Linked DNA regions of Homo sapiens: all the other regions are linked to region 2. Evidence: promoter capture Hi-C in 16 types of primary human blood cells and fetal thymus (Javierre and others, 2016). All regions are on one chromosome and are shown on one strand. Each heading gives the region's core, a stretch centred on a gene start or on the middle of the fragment in contact. The rest is flanking DNA. Distances are from core to core; before and after follow the strand shown.

Region 1 (3,424 bases), core at 379-2,878, 1.7 Mb after region 2:
CTCAAATTCCTGACCTCAAGTGATCTGCCTGCCTTGGCCTCCCAAAGTGCTGGGATTACAGGCATGAGCCACCGCACCCGGCTATAGGAACTTTTAAGAAATCAGAATACCATAACCTTAATACAGAAATATTTCAAAAAATCATTTAAAATTATAGCTTATGAGGTCATGGTAGCAACTAAGCGGTTCTTTTACTTAAATACTTTAGAACACTTTGAAAAATTCTTACCTTTTCAGGAAAATTATTTTCTGTTACTTGTGAAGGAGAAACATTTGGTTCCCGATAAATTATAAAATCTTTCCTGAAAATAACAATTAGAAATTATTTATAATGGACTATACTTCATGAATTTGAATTTAATCATTCATTCATTCATCAAGGGCCTAATACGTGCCAGGCACTGTCCCAACCACTGGAGATACAAAAGACAATAATGAGATAACTAAGTTGTAAAATATCTATATAAAAGTAACCTTTTTAACATGTAAAATTTCAAATATTATTTGTATATATATTAAATTTCAGATATAATTCTAAAGGGACACTTCAAAAATCAAAGAAATTTTGAAGATGAAATTTAAACAACATTCTGAAAAGAAAAAACAAAGTATTTACCTGCTCCTCTACTAGGCAAAAGTAGCAAAATTGAATACAGGTTGAGCATCCCAAATCTAAAAAGCCAAAATCCCAAATGTTCCAAAATCTAAAACTTTTTGAGCACCAACATGACACTCAAAGGAAATGCTCATTGGAGCATTTTGGATTTCAGATTTTCAAATTAGGGATGCTCAACTGGGTAAGCATAATGTAAATATTCCAAAATTTAAAAAAAAAATGAAATCCAAAAACTTCTGGACTCAATCATTTCAGATAAGGAATACCCAATTTGTAACATGGTATTTTAGTACGGTTCTAGTGGCCATTCAATACCACTGACCCTGAGAAAGTAGAAAATCATTTCTCTACAAAGTTGATAAGTGATATCTTACAGAACATAGACCGGAAAAATTTCTGTACCCTTTTCCAAAGTATTTTGAGAATTAAAATTTCTAAACACTGACATATCTAAATGTCAAAATCTAATTGATGCAATTAAAAAAAACTTAGAAAAGATACTTCATAACTAAAGTATAAAAGAGCTTTGCTATTTTAACATTTTTAATATAATGGAATATAATTTCCCACTGGTTTCATTTTCTTTTACTTATGTTATTACAGTGTTTACCTGTACATAAGAGAAAGGGCACTTATTTCCACTTGTCCTACCCATTCCTGTATTGAAGAAAAAAAGGTGGCATGTAAGTGTCTCACACTTTTTAGATTCCACTTTATATTTCTATACATACCTTCATACAGCATACGTAATGAGTTCTTAAAGCTCATTATTATTAGTAGTATTGTGAATATTATAAAAACGTTTATATAAAACAGACCACAATATGTGGTAAAATGCAGTCCAAGTCTCTCCCACACATACACAAAAAAATACTAACAGGGTGAAATGACAGTTCCTATTGGTGTGGCAAGACCACAGCATGGCATCTGTTAAGTTGAGACTTTTTTTTTTTTGAGATGGAGTTTCGCTCTTGTTGCTCAGGCTGGAGTGCAGCGGCGTGATCTCGGCTCACCGCAACCTCTGCCTCCGAGGTTCAAGCGATTCTCCCGCCTCAGCCTCCCAAGTAGCTGGGATTACAGGCATGTGCCACCATGCCCAGCTAATTTTGTATTTTTAGTAGAGACGGGGTTTCTCTATGTTGGTCAGGCTGGTCTCAACTACTGACCTCAGGTGATCCACCCGCCTCAGTCTCCCAAAGTGCTGGGATTACAAGCGTGAGCCACTGCGCCTGGCCCAAGTTGAGAACGTATTGAAGGCAAGGGCTATCCTCCAGCCTAGCCCTCAGGAGAGCGCCTGGCACATGGTATAAGCTCGGGAAATGAAATACTGAATAGAGGCGGCTGGGCGCAGTGGCTCATGCCTGTAATCCCAATACTTTGGCAGGCCAAGGAGGGCGGATCACCTGAGGTCGGGAGTTCGAGACCAGTCTGACCAACATGGAGAAACCCCCTCTCTACTAAAAATACAAACTTAGCCGGGTGTGGTGGCCCATGCCTATAGTCCTAGCTACTCAAGAGGCTGAGGCAGGAGAATCGCTTGAACCCAGGAAGCAGAGGTTGCAGTGAGCCAAGATTGCACCATTGCACTCCAGCCTGGGCAACAAGAGCAAAACTCGGTCTCAAAAAAAAAAAAAGAAAGAAAGAAATATTGAATAGAAGCAGAAAATTGGGAAGTATAGAAAAGGGCAGAAGATCTCTTCTCTTCAGGGTAAATGAAGGTACAAAAGAGAGCAGTGTCCTAGCAATTGTTTTGAAAACAAGAGAAATTCTACACTCCTTAGAAAAGTCACTTAAAGCCTTTCTGAAAGGCAAATGGCCAGTATGTTTCAAAATTTAAAATGTCCCATATACCCTGTGACCCAGCAATTCAACTTCTATACGTCTATCATAAAGAAATATTTCACATCTACAAAAGTGTATGTAAAATAATGATGTCACTGGGAGTTATTTGTAACAGTGTTTAAAAAAAAAAAAAAGTCCCTAAGATTCCTACAGAATAGTAAAATAATTCATGTTTCAGGCAGGATGTGGTGGCTCACGCCTGTAATCCCAACACTTTGGGAGGCCGAGACAGGCAGATCACGAGGTTGGGAGTTCAAGACCAGCCTGACCAACACAGTGAAACCCCATCTCTACTAAAAATACAAAACATTAGTCGGGCCTGGTGGCACATGCCTATAATCCCAGCTACTCGGGGGCTGAGGGAGGAGAACCACTTGAAGCTGGGAGGCAGCAGTCGAGTAAGCCGAGATCGCGCTGCTGCACTCCAGCCTGGGAGACAAGAGCGAAACTATGTCTCATAAAAAATAATTCATGTTTCAGCCACACTATAGAATATCATGCATTCATTCAAAAGAATGAGGTATAACCACATGAAATGACCTAGAAAAATCACTCAAGATTAAGTTTTAAAAGTAAATCATGGGAAAATAATACTATTTGTGAAAAACAAAAAGGCATATATATTGGTACATGTGCACACATAGAAAGGGGATGGGGAGGATACATCCTAAATTGACAATAGAGACAGGGAAGTTAACATGAGGAAAAATGAAGAATTTTCACCCTTTATTCTATAATACATCTATATTTTAAAACTTTTACCGTAAGAATATTTTCCTATAGTACTGTGAAGTCGGTAAAGACTTAATACATTAAGTCACCAAAAACAATGAGCTTTGGTAAATGAATGCTGCCACTTATTCCTTGAAAGGAAAGAAAAACTGAAATAAGGAAAATATTTTAAACAATGTTTTGATCTTAGACCAGCACAATCTTTTCCCTCAGAGACTTTTCAATAGTTCTTAA
Region 2 (3,692 bases), core at 652-3,151:
AATACTTTTGTAAATATGCTTCCAACTTTTATCTACATTTTTGAACTGTTAAACCAAATTTTTCAGTTAACACTTTATAAATTAACATTCTTTGGCTAGGTGCGGTGGCTCACGCCTGTAACCCCAGCACTTTAGGAGGCCTAGGCGAGCAGATCACTTGAGACCAGGAGTTTGAGACTAGCCTGGCCAAAACAGCAAAACCCTGTCTCTACTGAAAATACAAAAATTAGCCAGGCGTGGTGGTGCACGCCTGTAATTCCAGCTACTCCGGAGGCTAAGTCATGAGAATCCTTTGAACCTGGGAGTTGGAGATTGCAGTGAGCTGAGATCATGCCACCGCACTGCAGCCTGGGCGACAGAAACTGTCTGAAAACAAAACAACACAAAACAACCATTATTCTACATTAATGGTTGTTAAAGGTTAATAGTTCATTTTCTGGGTGTATGACAGTTTTAAACACCTAACTTTTAATACTGGATTCAGCCTACTGTTGTTAGCTTTTTGCAGTCATATATGAAGACTATGATGAACATCATTGTAGGTATTCATCTTTGCATATATCCTTAGACATTTCCTTATAGTCTAAGAACTAGCATTTCTAGTGGAGTGGGGACATTTTTCCAGATGTCCATTTAAGAATTATCATTCCATTAGTTAAAAAATTTGCAGGCTATATATTCAAAGGGGATCCCTTCTGTTTGGAATTCAACATAACCAGTTAGCTCAAACCTCAACTCTCGAAAAATGTGTCTCCTTTACTCAACAAACATTTAGAGAATACTGAATATGAGGAATAAAAAAAGATAAAAAAGACCCTGTACTGGGCAGGTAATCTACTGTAGTATGCAGATTCGTTATCAAACAGACTACAATGTATTTAAATTTTGTAGGCGATGAATGCACAAGGCCCTTAAGCTGCATTGAAGGCTGCCTAAGGCAGTATACAAAATCAGTGCTGAATATTTGTTAACACTTAAGGAGAATGTACGTTTTAATTTTCATGTTTGATGCTTGGGGAAAAGATTACATCGCACCACCTATCTTCCCCATATATTGATTATTCGTGTTTCTCACTTCCATGGTAGTGTGCACGTTATTTGCTTAACTTTGGCATATAAATTCAGAAGAAATATCATTTAACTCTGTGCCTAAGGAGGGTATTTAGAAATAACCGACGCAGCTAACATGAGAAGGCAAAAAAAAAAAAAAAGAAAAAAGAAAAAAATCACACTAACGGACTTTTTTTTTTTTTCTAACAACAAAAAACCGTGAGACTTCACTTGGGGTAACCATAACGTCGTCAAGGCTGTGGCGTCACGCCTCTAAGCGGATACGGCAGAAGTTTTGGGGCCAGACACAAGACTTCCAAGTTTGAATGGGCAGCGCAAAACCCAGACAAGTTTTCCGGTAGTGCCGCCAACCCCTGTCAGGCACAGAAGACACAGCGAGAACCGTGAGCCGTTACGAAAGCCTAAAACACTGAGCTCGCGTCCTGCCAAGCAGCAGGCGCACAAACCTACACCTCCGAGCGCTCCCTGGAGGTCCCGCCCACTCTTCTCTCCCGAGCCGGCTAGAGATCTGGAAGAGGGCGGGCCAAGGGTGAGGAGGGCAGTATGCGCATGCGCGCTCAGGACCCAGTCAGTGAGCCAATAAGGAATCTCGCGAGTGTTGAAAGTCGGTGGCGTAGGTCGTCGTCCTGGATGCTGGCGAGATAGATGTTATCTTCCAGAGGAAGAGGAGGAGGCGGCGAAGCGTTTTCCCAGCCTCAGTCTCTCTTTCGTTTTCCTTTTCCCTTCCCCCAACCCTCCGCCCTTCTCTAAATCAGCCGGCCTTCCTTGACCTCAGTGACCCGTCTGGCCCCGCCCACCCTCGTCGACGTGATTCCCGCCGTGAGGTAAGCGCCGGTGGAACCTAGAGCCCCGCGGAAGAGCAGAACGTTTGGGAGTGTGCAGCTCCTGGGCCCGGCTCAGGCCCGTCGCGGAGGCGCGGCGCAGGGGAGCGCTCGGGTGGGAGTCTCGCTCCTCCACCAGTTTATTGCGACGTAGCATCCAGGCCTAGGCCTCCCCGTCCATCCCCGCCGGACTCGGGCCTCTGGCAGCAGCGGGTGACGCAGACGGAACATCATGTCGTCCGCGGCCGAGCCTCCGCCACCCCCGCCTCCCGAGAGCGCGCCTTCCAAGCCCGCAGCCTCGATCGCCAGCGGCGGGAGCAACAGCAGCAACAAAGGCGGCCCCGAAGGCGTCGCGGCGCAGGCGGTTGCGTCTGCGGCCAGCGCTGGTCCCGCAGACGCCGAGATGGAGGTGAGGGCGACTTGCGGCATGGGGAGCGGGTGCAGCGGGGAGGAGGAGCTGGCTCCCTCGCCGGATCGTGGCGATCGGACGCAGAGCCGGGTTTCTCTCTCTGCACCAGACTCAGCTTCACACCCTGTGGATACGAAATGATGCTCTCACTCTTGCTCCCTTGTTCTTACCCTATTCGAGCTAAGCAAAATGGATTTCTGGCTCCTCACATTTAAATTATTTGTCTCTTTCGTGAATCCTGACAAATATTTGAACGCTCTCAGTGAACAGATGTTCTTGGTTACCGTGGCCCGGGGGACCCATCGTTTTTTTCCCACTAGACTCCCATAATTCCCTCTCCTACCTCTGAATGTGGTTTTTAGTTTCCACCAAACTTCGGGGAAGGGCGAGGAGATGACCCCTTAGGAGCGGGATGCACGGGCGGGGTGAAGGAGGCATTTAAAAGCAGCGCGTCCGAGGACTTGGGCCTCCTTTTCTTCTTCCCGGTCCTTGCAGGGGCGGTATCTGTTGTGGGCAGAAACAATGGCGAGAGCTGGATGGCCGAGTGCGCAGTGGGGATAAGCGGGGCGCAGCTGCTTCTGTGAAGGGAGAGAAGGCCCCTCCCAGGCACTATTCCACTGGAAGGGAAGCAACCAAGGCAGCAGCAGCTGTCTCGGATCCCCCGTCTAATTTAGGGGGGATGAATAAGTGTAGGAATGAATTAGAGAACCAGGCGCAGTTGGTTGGCTCTCAGTCCGGCACTTTTCTCTTTTTGGCCTCTGGCCTTAAGAAAAAAAAAAATTAGTACCACTCGCTGCCGAGACTTATGGGTTTGGGTTGGGCAGGGGATGCTGACAGTACTGAGGGGGCTGGAAAGATGGGGGAAGCTGCCAGGCGGGTAAATTGGATATGCTTCCAGGCTTTGCATCTGGGAACAAAGTAATTGCTCCTTCCAATTTTTATTTTCTTGGCCTTCGACCTGTTTTGAGATATTTTGTGAGTCGGAGCCCAAAGATTTCTGGGATTTTCCTATCCTTAGACAGAATGAAAGTAATACTGCTCCGAAGATGAGTCTTGATGCAGAATCATTATACAGTAAGAAAATGGTAGCGTAATTTACCATTGAGGCTTTTGGCACAGTAGTTATATTTGGGTAGCTGGGGTTAAGTAACATTAATGTTAGTAATCATTTAAAGAACTTTTAGTGGTGAGGGTAGGTTTAGTGACATAGGAACTCCTGATAGTTCCTGTAGTTTTGAGTGATTAAGATAAGATTACTTCCAAATTAAAATATATTCAGTGTTGCTTTTTTTTCCTTAAGGAAATGGTTCTTTTGGGTTACTAGGGCTCTTTAACTTGGATTTCTGTTCCAAGGCTTAAGGGGTTTGACACAAAGCAATTATGTGTAAATG
Region 3 (3,545 bases), core at 508-3,007, 1.6 Mb after region 2:
AGATAAGAGATGCTTATACTCACCCACAATTTGTGACCGATGTAATGAAGCCTCTGCAAATTGAAAACATCATTGATCAAGAGGTACTTTAACATAATTTTTTTTATTTTTTTATTATTTTGAATTTTGGATGCCTTTACATGGTTTGCTAAACTCCTCCAATTAGGTGCAGACATTATCTGGTGGTGAACTACAGCGAGTAGCTTTAGCCCTTTGCTTGGGCAAACCTGCTGATGTCTATTTAATTGATGAACCATCTGCATATTTGGATTCTGAGCAAAGACTGATGGCAGCTCGAGTTGTCAAACGGTAAATATCTTGCTCCTAGCCATATTTTGATTATGTATACTGTCCTACAAGTGTGCTTAATATAACAGTCGAATGTTTTATGATAGAAAGCTATAAGATTTCAAAATCATTGTGTTTTAGTTTCATACTCCATGCAAAAAAGACAGCCTTTGTTGTGGAACATGACTTCATCATGGCCACCTATCTAGCGGATCGCGTCATCGTTTTTGATGGTGTTCCATCTAAGAACACAGTTGCAAACAGGTAAAATTACTTTTTAATATGTTCAAAGTAATTCATTTTAAATTTTCCAGTAAATAGTAAAGTCACTCACTTTAATTTTTAAAAAATGAAAGCTAGAAATTCTAGACTTGATTCTGTGACTCCTGAGATCATTGGTATTGGGGACTGGATGGGACCATGTGGAAGAGTAGTGTTTAGGCTTCAGTGTGGAATCCCTCACCAGGAAGATAAAAAGCTGTAGGCCACAGCATAAAAAGCTGTGGGCCCCTCACCTTTTCTCAGCTTAACTTTTGTTTGCTTTATTATTTGAATTTCCCAAAAAAGATTGAAAACTATTGCTTTCATACATGATAGAAAAAGAAAACAAGATTAAAGAGGTTACATGATTTGTCCAACTTATGCTGACAGTGATTGAGCTCACAGTGGATCCCAAATATCTGGTATTAATCTATAGCAGAGTTAAAATAAATGGTTTTACTTTTTTCGTTTTTTCTTCTCATTTTTCCTTGTTAGCCTGATTAAGAGCACTTGCAATATAGAGAAGCCTAACATTCAGATCAAGTTATGAGAAATTCATTTTACCTTTAGTGCTAAAGCCTATATTATTAGATTGAACTAAATGAAATTACTGGTGTTCAGTTTTCACCTATAAAACCAGCAGTTTCATGTGGTTTCAGCATGTTTTCTGGTATTGGAGAGCAAGGAATGGAGTTGCCATTTTAATAATTCATCTAAGAAATAAAAGTATTTTGCTGGGCTTCTTCCCTGAATTCCTTTTTTTTTTTTATAAATTGAGAATTACATATTTCTTAAAGAGCTAGGGAAATTTCTTAGCATATGTGATGTTTATTTGTTCATCTAGTGATATCCCACCTTTCTATTTACAAAATTTTAAAATGTTTCACATGTATGTTGTGATTTGGCATGATTTAAGAACTCACTTGGGTAAAAACGATTAAGCATAGAAATTTAGAAAGGAATTGTCACTGAAAACCACTATTAGGAGGACATATTCCCTCCAGTAACAAATTTTTCATATAAATATAACTTTTTAAGATTCTCATCCCCCCTAAAAATGTGCAATTGGAGATTCTGTAATCTACTTATTAATTATCTTCTGTTTTTCTAAAGTAGTACTTCTATCTTAAATGTTTCTTTCACCAGATTAGAAATCCAGGTTAAATTTTTTTTTTGTTTTGCACAAAAATATTACAGCCAAGAAAACTATATAGTCCAAGCAAAGCTATTTCTGAACACAGGATTTGTAATATGCTGTTATTATACTGTTATCCAGATGATTTATGATTGGGGAATTTGAGGTAATAGTAATTCTTAATACCCTTCCTCTCAAAAGGTAGTTACATTTCTGAAGTAAAATTTAATCAAAATTGATTTTTTTTTTTCTCTTAGTCCTCAAACCCTTTTGGCTGGCATGAATAAATTTTTGTCTCAGCTTGAAATTACATTCAGAAGAGATCCAAACAACTATAGGCCACGAATAAACAAACTTAATTCAATTAAGGTATGTAGAAAAGTTGTCTTAAATCATGGATTACTGATCTCAGTATAAACACTTGAAAGGCTATTTAAAAATCAATAACATATGGCTGGGCACAGTGGCTCACACCTGTGATTCAAGCACTTTTGGGAGGCCAAGGCAGGCAGATCACTTGAGGTCACGAGTTTGAGACCAGCCTGGCCAACATGGTGCAACCCCATCTCTACTAAAAATGCAAAAATTAGCCGAGTCTGGTGGCAGGTATCTGTAATCCCAGCTACTTAGGAGTCTGAGGCAGGAGAATCACTTGAACCTGGAAGGTGGAGGTTGTAGTGAGCTGAGATCATCCCACTGTACTCCAGCCTGGGCAAAAGAGTGAGACTCTGTCTAAAAAAATAAAAATAAATTAAAAAACAACCATATTTTATTTTAAAATTCCTATGTTTTTTACATTTTAAGACCTGATGGCATACTTTAGTGTGCGGTAGGCAGCAATTGTAATGTAGCTGTCATTGCTGTGTGAACTCAAGAGCTCTTCCTGTTTTCTCTTTAAGTTGTATCACAGTTGTACTACCTATATTGATTACCACTTAAAATGTCTGGGGAAAGATTACACTAATTCACCATTGTAACAAAGAATTTTTTAAGAATACCTTAACCAATTTCTGTTATATTTTTCAATACATGATTAAAAGGTGTATTTTAGGCCAAGCGCAGTGGTTTATGCCTGTAATCCCAGAACTTTGGGAAGCCAAGGAGATCGAGACCATCCTGTCTAACGGTGAAAACCCATCTCTACTAAAAATACAAAAAATTAGCCAGGCGTGGTGGCATGCGCCTGTAATCCCAGCTACTCGGGAGGCTGAGGCAGGAGAATCACTTCAACCCAGGAGGTGGAGGTTGCAGTGAGCTGAGATCGTTCCACTGTACTCCAGCCTGGGCAACAGAGCGAGTCTCTGTCCCTGCCCCCGCCCCCGCAACCCCCGCAAAAAAAGTATATTTTGAAAGTCTAAACAAGCTCCTGTGATGAGGAAAACATTGTGTCTACTTAATTGACAATGTTTTTTGTCTTTGTAGTTCACAGTTGTGCACCCTACAGTTGATTTCCTCTGTGAAATACAGTATTTGTTTCTTAAAAGGCAAAAATCTTAGTCACTCAGAAACAGAAAGTAAATGAACTCTAAAAGCATTTCTGGGTTGTTTTTTTGGTTTTGGTTTTAGTTGTTTGTTTTTTTGAGGCAGAGTCTCACTCTCTCACCTAGGCTGGAGTGCAGTGGCGTGATCTCGGCTCACTACAACCTCTGCCTCCCGAGTTCAAGCAATTCTCTGCCTCAGCCTCCCGAGTAGCTGGGATTACAGGTGCCCACCACCACACCCGACTAATTTTCTGTATTTTTTTGATAGAGATGGGGTTTCACCATCTTGCCCGTGCTAGTCTTGAACTCCTGACCTAGTGTTCCACCTGCCTTGGCCTCCCAAAGTGCTGGGATTACAGGCGTGAGCCACCATGCTGGCC
Region 4 (3,409 bases), core at 673-3,172, 1.6 Mb after region 2:
GTCGATTTGAACTTGGAGAAGGAGCTCACCTTTAGGTAGGTCCTCCCCAGTCTGACACAGTGAATAAGGTGGTACAATGGCTCGATCTCCCTTTTCATTACAAGGAAACCCAGGATAGAGTGGGTCTTGATAAAGGCTCAATGTCTGAGGCAAAGGCATCAAGGGCTGGTTAACTGCCTGTATTGACACAGGAACTGGAGAGGGTGTTAAATGAGCTTGGGATACAGCTGAATCAGGTCCAGTGGTCAAAGTCTGTGTCACTGACAAAACGGGAATTGGAGCAGGGACACCTACAAAAGAGAAGAAAAGGAATCAAAATGACAAAAGATGAAAATCTCTACAAATATGCTTACATTAACCTATAAAGAATGCTGTATAACTGATAAAGCCAATCTAAAGTAGTACCTTTTAGTATCAACCAAGAGCCCTCCTGGACACCAAGAAGGAAATACGTCCAGGATACAAGCTCTGAGTCAATGTCTTCTAATAGTAGCTCTTGCAGGCACGTGTAGGACATGGGGCTGGTCAAGGGGTTCATTACGGGGCCATAAAGAGCTGGCCCATGAAGGAAGCATCAAACCGTGGTGCTAATTAGTGCTGAGCAACCAAAGCAACCAGCTCAAACATCATGCTCCTGAGACTATGAGGGCATATGTCAGATGAATACAACACCAAATGTACATGGTCTTTCCACATTGGAAGCAGAGCAAAGCAGAGTATCACAGAAAGCTCTGTGAGGCTCCACACACCTAATCCTGCTCAGAGGTCAAACTTCCACTCAAGAATTTGAAGTCTCTGACTAGAAAGGTATTTTGGCTGGCTAGATTTTCTAAACCCTTCTCTAACCTGTTGGTCCAAAAGTTGTAGGTTCACTTGGCCAGGCTGGCACAGTGGCTGGTAAAGAAGGCACCGCAGGAGTTAGATGTACCTCTGGAGAAACTAGAAGGGGAGCTGGATTTGACAAAGACACATGTTCTGCTGGCTTCTTCAAGAAAGGGGTGAGTGGGGGAAGACAGAAAAAGACAAGAGGTCATTTTGCTTTAACACTATTTCTAACCACCAGATACATATTGAGTTGCCTGCCTTTTATACAAATGAAGTACAAATAGCCCTTATAGTCTTAGAAATGTAAGAAAAACACACAGTAGCTAAAGATAATATGCAAACAAATTTGATCCTAACCAAGGGTTGCCTACCAACAAGGACTGTATTTTTTAATACAGACAGGGTTTCACCCTGTTGCCCAGGCTAGTCTCAAAACTCTTGGGCTCAAGCGATCTGCCCGCCTTGGCATCCCAAGGTGCTGGAATTACAGGCGTGAGCCACCGCACCTATCCACTAGCAGAGTTAAATACAACACAATACTTTTAAGGCAAGTGAGCAAAATCATTGAAATCTTGAAATTCATGATTATTTAGAAAAACTCCTCATGTAACTATATGCTTTCTTACCAATATGAAGAATGTTGGTTGAAAGGCATTTAACATTTAACTTTCTCTACTCTTGTATTAGTCAAGAACTAAAATGTCTGCTAGAACACAGGTTCATCATGAAATTTGTAAATTGGTATTTTTTTAATGTATATTTTTCAAACCTTTTCAATCAGTACATTCCCTCCCATCTGTGAAATAACTGATGCAGATAACTCTTTTAAATTTTGAAATAAAGTAGAAATTCAGTTTCCCTTCAAAAATCTAATTTTCAAGGAAATCTACCAAAGTAATACAAAGTATCAAATATAACGATAACAAATATAAATATATTCAAAGTCAATTCAAAAAAATGGTCTCAATCACCAGAAAATGGTGGTTATTTCTATAACATTCCATAAATAGAGAACATTCTAGACTAACATCAGAATACATTTAAAAATCATAACCACAGCCAAACTGTGATGCCAGAAAAAATTCTCCCATTTCCCATACTGATGTTTTCTGTTTTTAAATGACCCTATACACAGAGCACAGAAACCCAGAGAGTGGAGCATTCAATGTTAAATGCAACAATATACTTACTTGTTCCGCAGGAGAAGGGCACTCTAACTTCTTTGACTTTGATGGTGATGAAACTGTTGCATATTTATCATCAGTAATATTCTTTGGAAGCAAAAAAGAAGCAAAGTTTTGTATTTCAGAGACCCACATTCTGGAATATTGATGGTTTCCTTTTATAATTCACCCTACCTGTATCTGACAGAACCCTCTCACCACTGAGTATTTTTTCCAATTATATGTTATTTTCAACAGGTAGGCTAACTTTGCCTGAACATCTTTATTACATCAAACTACTGGGCAGTTTTCACTGGAGGCAAGGCTTCAAACATTATACTCTTCTCCTTTAAAAACATCACTCTAGAGGGACAGAGAATAAAGGCTACTTTCTAACAATTCAGGCAGGGCACCCTAATGTACCTTGAAGAAACTGTCATAATTTGTGAGTGACTTCTCAATCCCCATCATCTTTTCCCTGCTTTTCTACTTTCCTAATACACAGCTATAAAATTTCGAAATTATTTTCACCTTCTTCCACTTCTTCCTACTGTACTACACAGTATTAAGGAAAAAGAAAAGATGCAAGTAGTGTTTAAAACTTTTACCTCCAATGTGCTTGGTTCGGGTCTTTTATCCAACTGACTATGTCCATGAATAGAGTCTATAGCAGATCAAGATTAAAAAAGACAGCATAAGCCACCAGTCATGTCTGAACACAGAAGAACAAAATACGAAGATAGAAGAAGCCAAAAGTATTATTTGAACCATGTTTAGTCAGTGAAAATGTAGTTTTTAGAATAGCACTTAACATCCTTTAGCTTGAGTCAATACTTCTCTGCAACATTCAAAATATGTGACATTAGATAAACTACTTAACAACTTAAAAAGGGTTCTTTCCCAAATATATGACATTAAGCCAGTCATCTAAAGAGATCTCTAGCATCTGCTTTCTAATGATGAGATAACTTACCTTTGTCTTTTCGTTCTTCTGTATCCATTCTCCGCCTGCTTCCTTTTCTATCACCTACATGTGATGATTTTCTCTGGACACATGGATTGCTACTCTGAGAAGCTGACTGATTGACTGATGAGCTCTTTAAAATGAACAAAACCCAACATTTTGTGTTAAAGATTTACCCACAGATACATGAACAAATTCTGTAATTAATCTCACTCTTCATACTTCTAAAATCTTAAAATTCACAGCCCTGTATTTTTAACTGAAACTAAAGAAGATAGAATCTAGGGTCCATAATTAATTATACACCCTAGAATAATAGTCTTATCGCTAAGTTGAAAGGATTAAGCAATCAGATTTCAACTTAGATTAGTAGACTTAATCTTCATATCCCTATTTCAGGAAGCCACCCTGAACAAACCTTTACCCTACAATTTTTCTTTCAAAAAAAACAACATCT

The links. The method cuts DNA at HindIII sites, captures the fragments that hold promoters and counts their contacts. A CHiCAGO score of 5 or more calls a contact.
Region 1: a fragment that was not itself captured here is called in contact with the fragment with the promoter of SMARCA5 in region 2 in 5 of 17 cell types (naive CD8 T cells, monocytes, total CD4 T cells and 2 more); the score reaches 8.7 in naive CD8 T cells.
Region 3: a fragment that was not itself captured here is called in contact with the fragment with the promoter of SMARCA5 in region 2 in 2 of 17 cell types (naive CD4 T cells and total CD4 T cells); the score reaches 6.5 in naive CD4 T cells.
Region 4: a fragment that was not itself captured here is called in contact with the fragment with the promoter of SMARCA5 in region 2 in 4 of 17 cell types (naive CD8 T cells, total CD4 T cells, non-activated CD4 T cells and 1 more); the score reaches 17.0 in naive CD8 T cells.

The regions. Positions count from the first base shown.
Region 1 is chr4:145,163,925-145,167,348 of GRCh38, forward strand. OTUD4 (OTU deubiquitinase 4) reads right to left here. Exons shown (of 21, transcript NM_001366057.1): 4 at 1,227-1,273; 5 at 230-302. Among named protein-coding and RNA genes, the nearest start is that of OTUD4, 15 kb to the right of the region's middle. The HindIII fragment of the contact is 5,397 bases long and covers 1-3,424 here.
Region 2 is chr4:143,511,801-143,515,492 of GRCh38, forward strand. SMARCA5 (SNF2 related chromatin remodeling ATPase 5) reads left to right here and starts at 1,902. Exons shown (of 24, transcript NM_003601.4): 1 at 1,902-2,301. The coding sequence starts at 2,125. It overlaps SMARCA5-AS1 (SMARCA5 antisense RNA 1), which reads right to left and starts at 3,037. Exons shown (of 2, transcript NR_104027.1): 1 at 2,645-3,037; 2 at 1,672-2,425. RefSeq lists enhancers at 1,333-1,382, 1,403-1,492, 1,523-1,592, 1,623-1,992, 2,283-2,342 and 1 more. The HindIII fragment of the contact is 18,533 bases long and covers 1-3,692 here.
Region 3 is chr4:145,123,049-145,126,593 of GRCh38, forward strand. It overlaps ABCE1 (ATP binding cassette subfamily E member 1), which reads left to right. Exons shown (of 18, transcript NM_002940.3): 14 at 1-83; 15 at 167-309; 16 at 430-552; 17 at 1,942-2,053. Among named protein-coding and RNA genes, the nearest start is that of ABCE1, 27 kb to the left of the region's middle. RefSeq lists an enhancer at 3,084-3,323. The HindIII fragment of the contact is 3,737 bases long and covers 1-3,545 here.
Region 4 is chr4:145,141,350-145,144,758 of GRCh38, forward strand. It overlaps OTUD4 (OTU deubiquitinase 4), which reads right to left. Exons shown (of 21, transcript NM_001366057.1): 15 at 2,962-3,085; 16 at 2,597-2,652; 17 at 2,016-2,096; 18 at 847-985; 19 at 30-290. Among named protein-coding and RNA genes, the nearest start is that of OTUD4, 38 kb to the right of the region's middle. The HindIII fragment of the contact is 3,887 bases long and covers 1-3,409 here.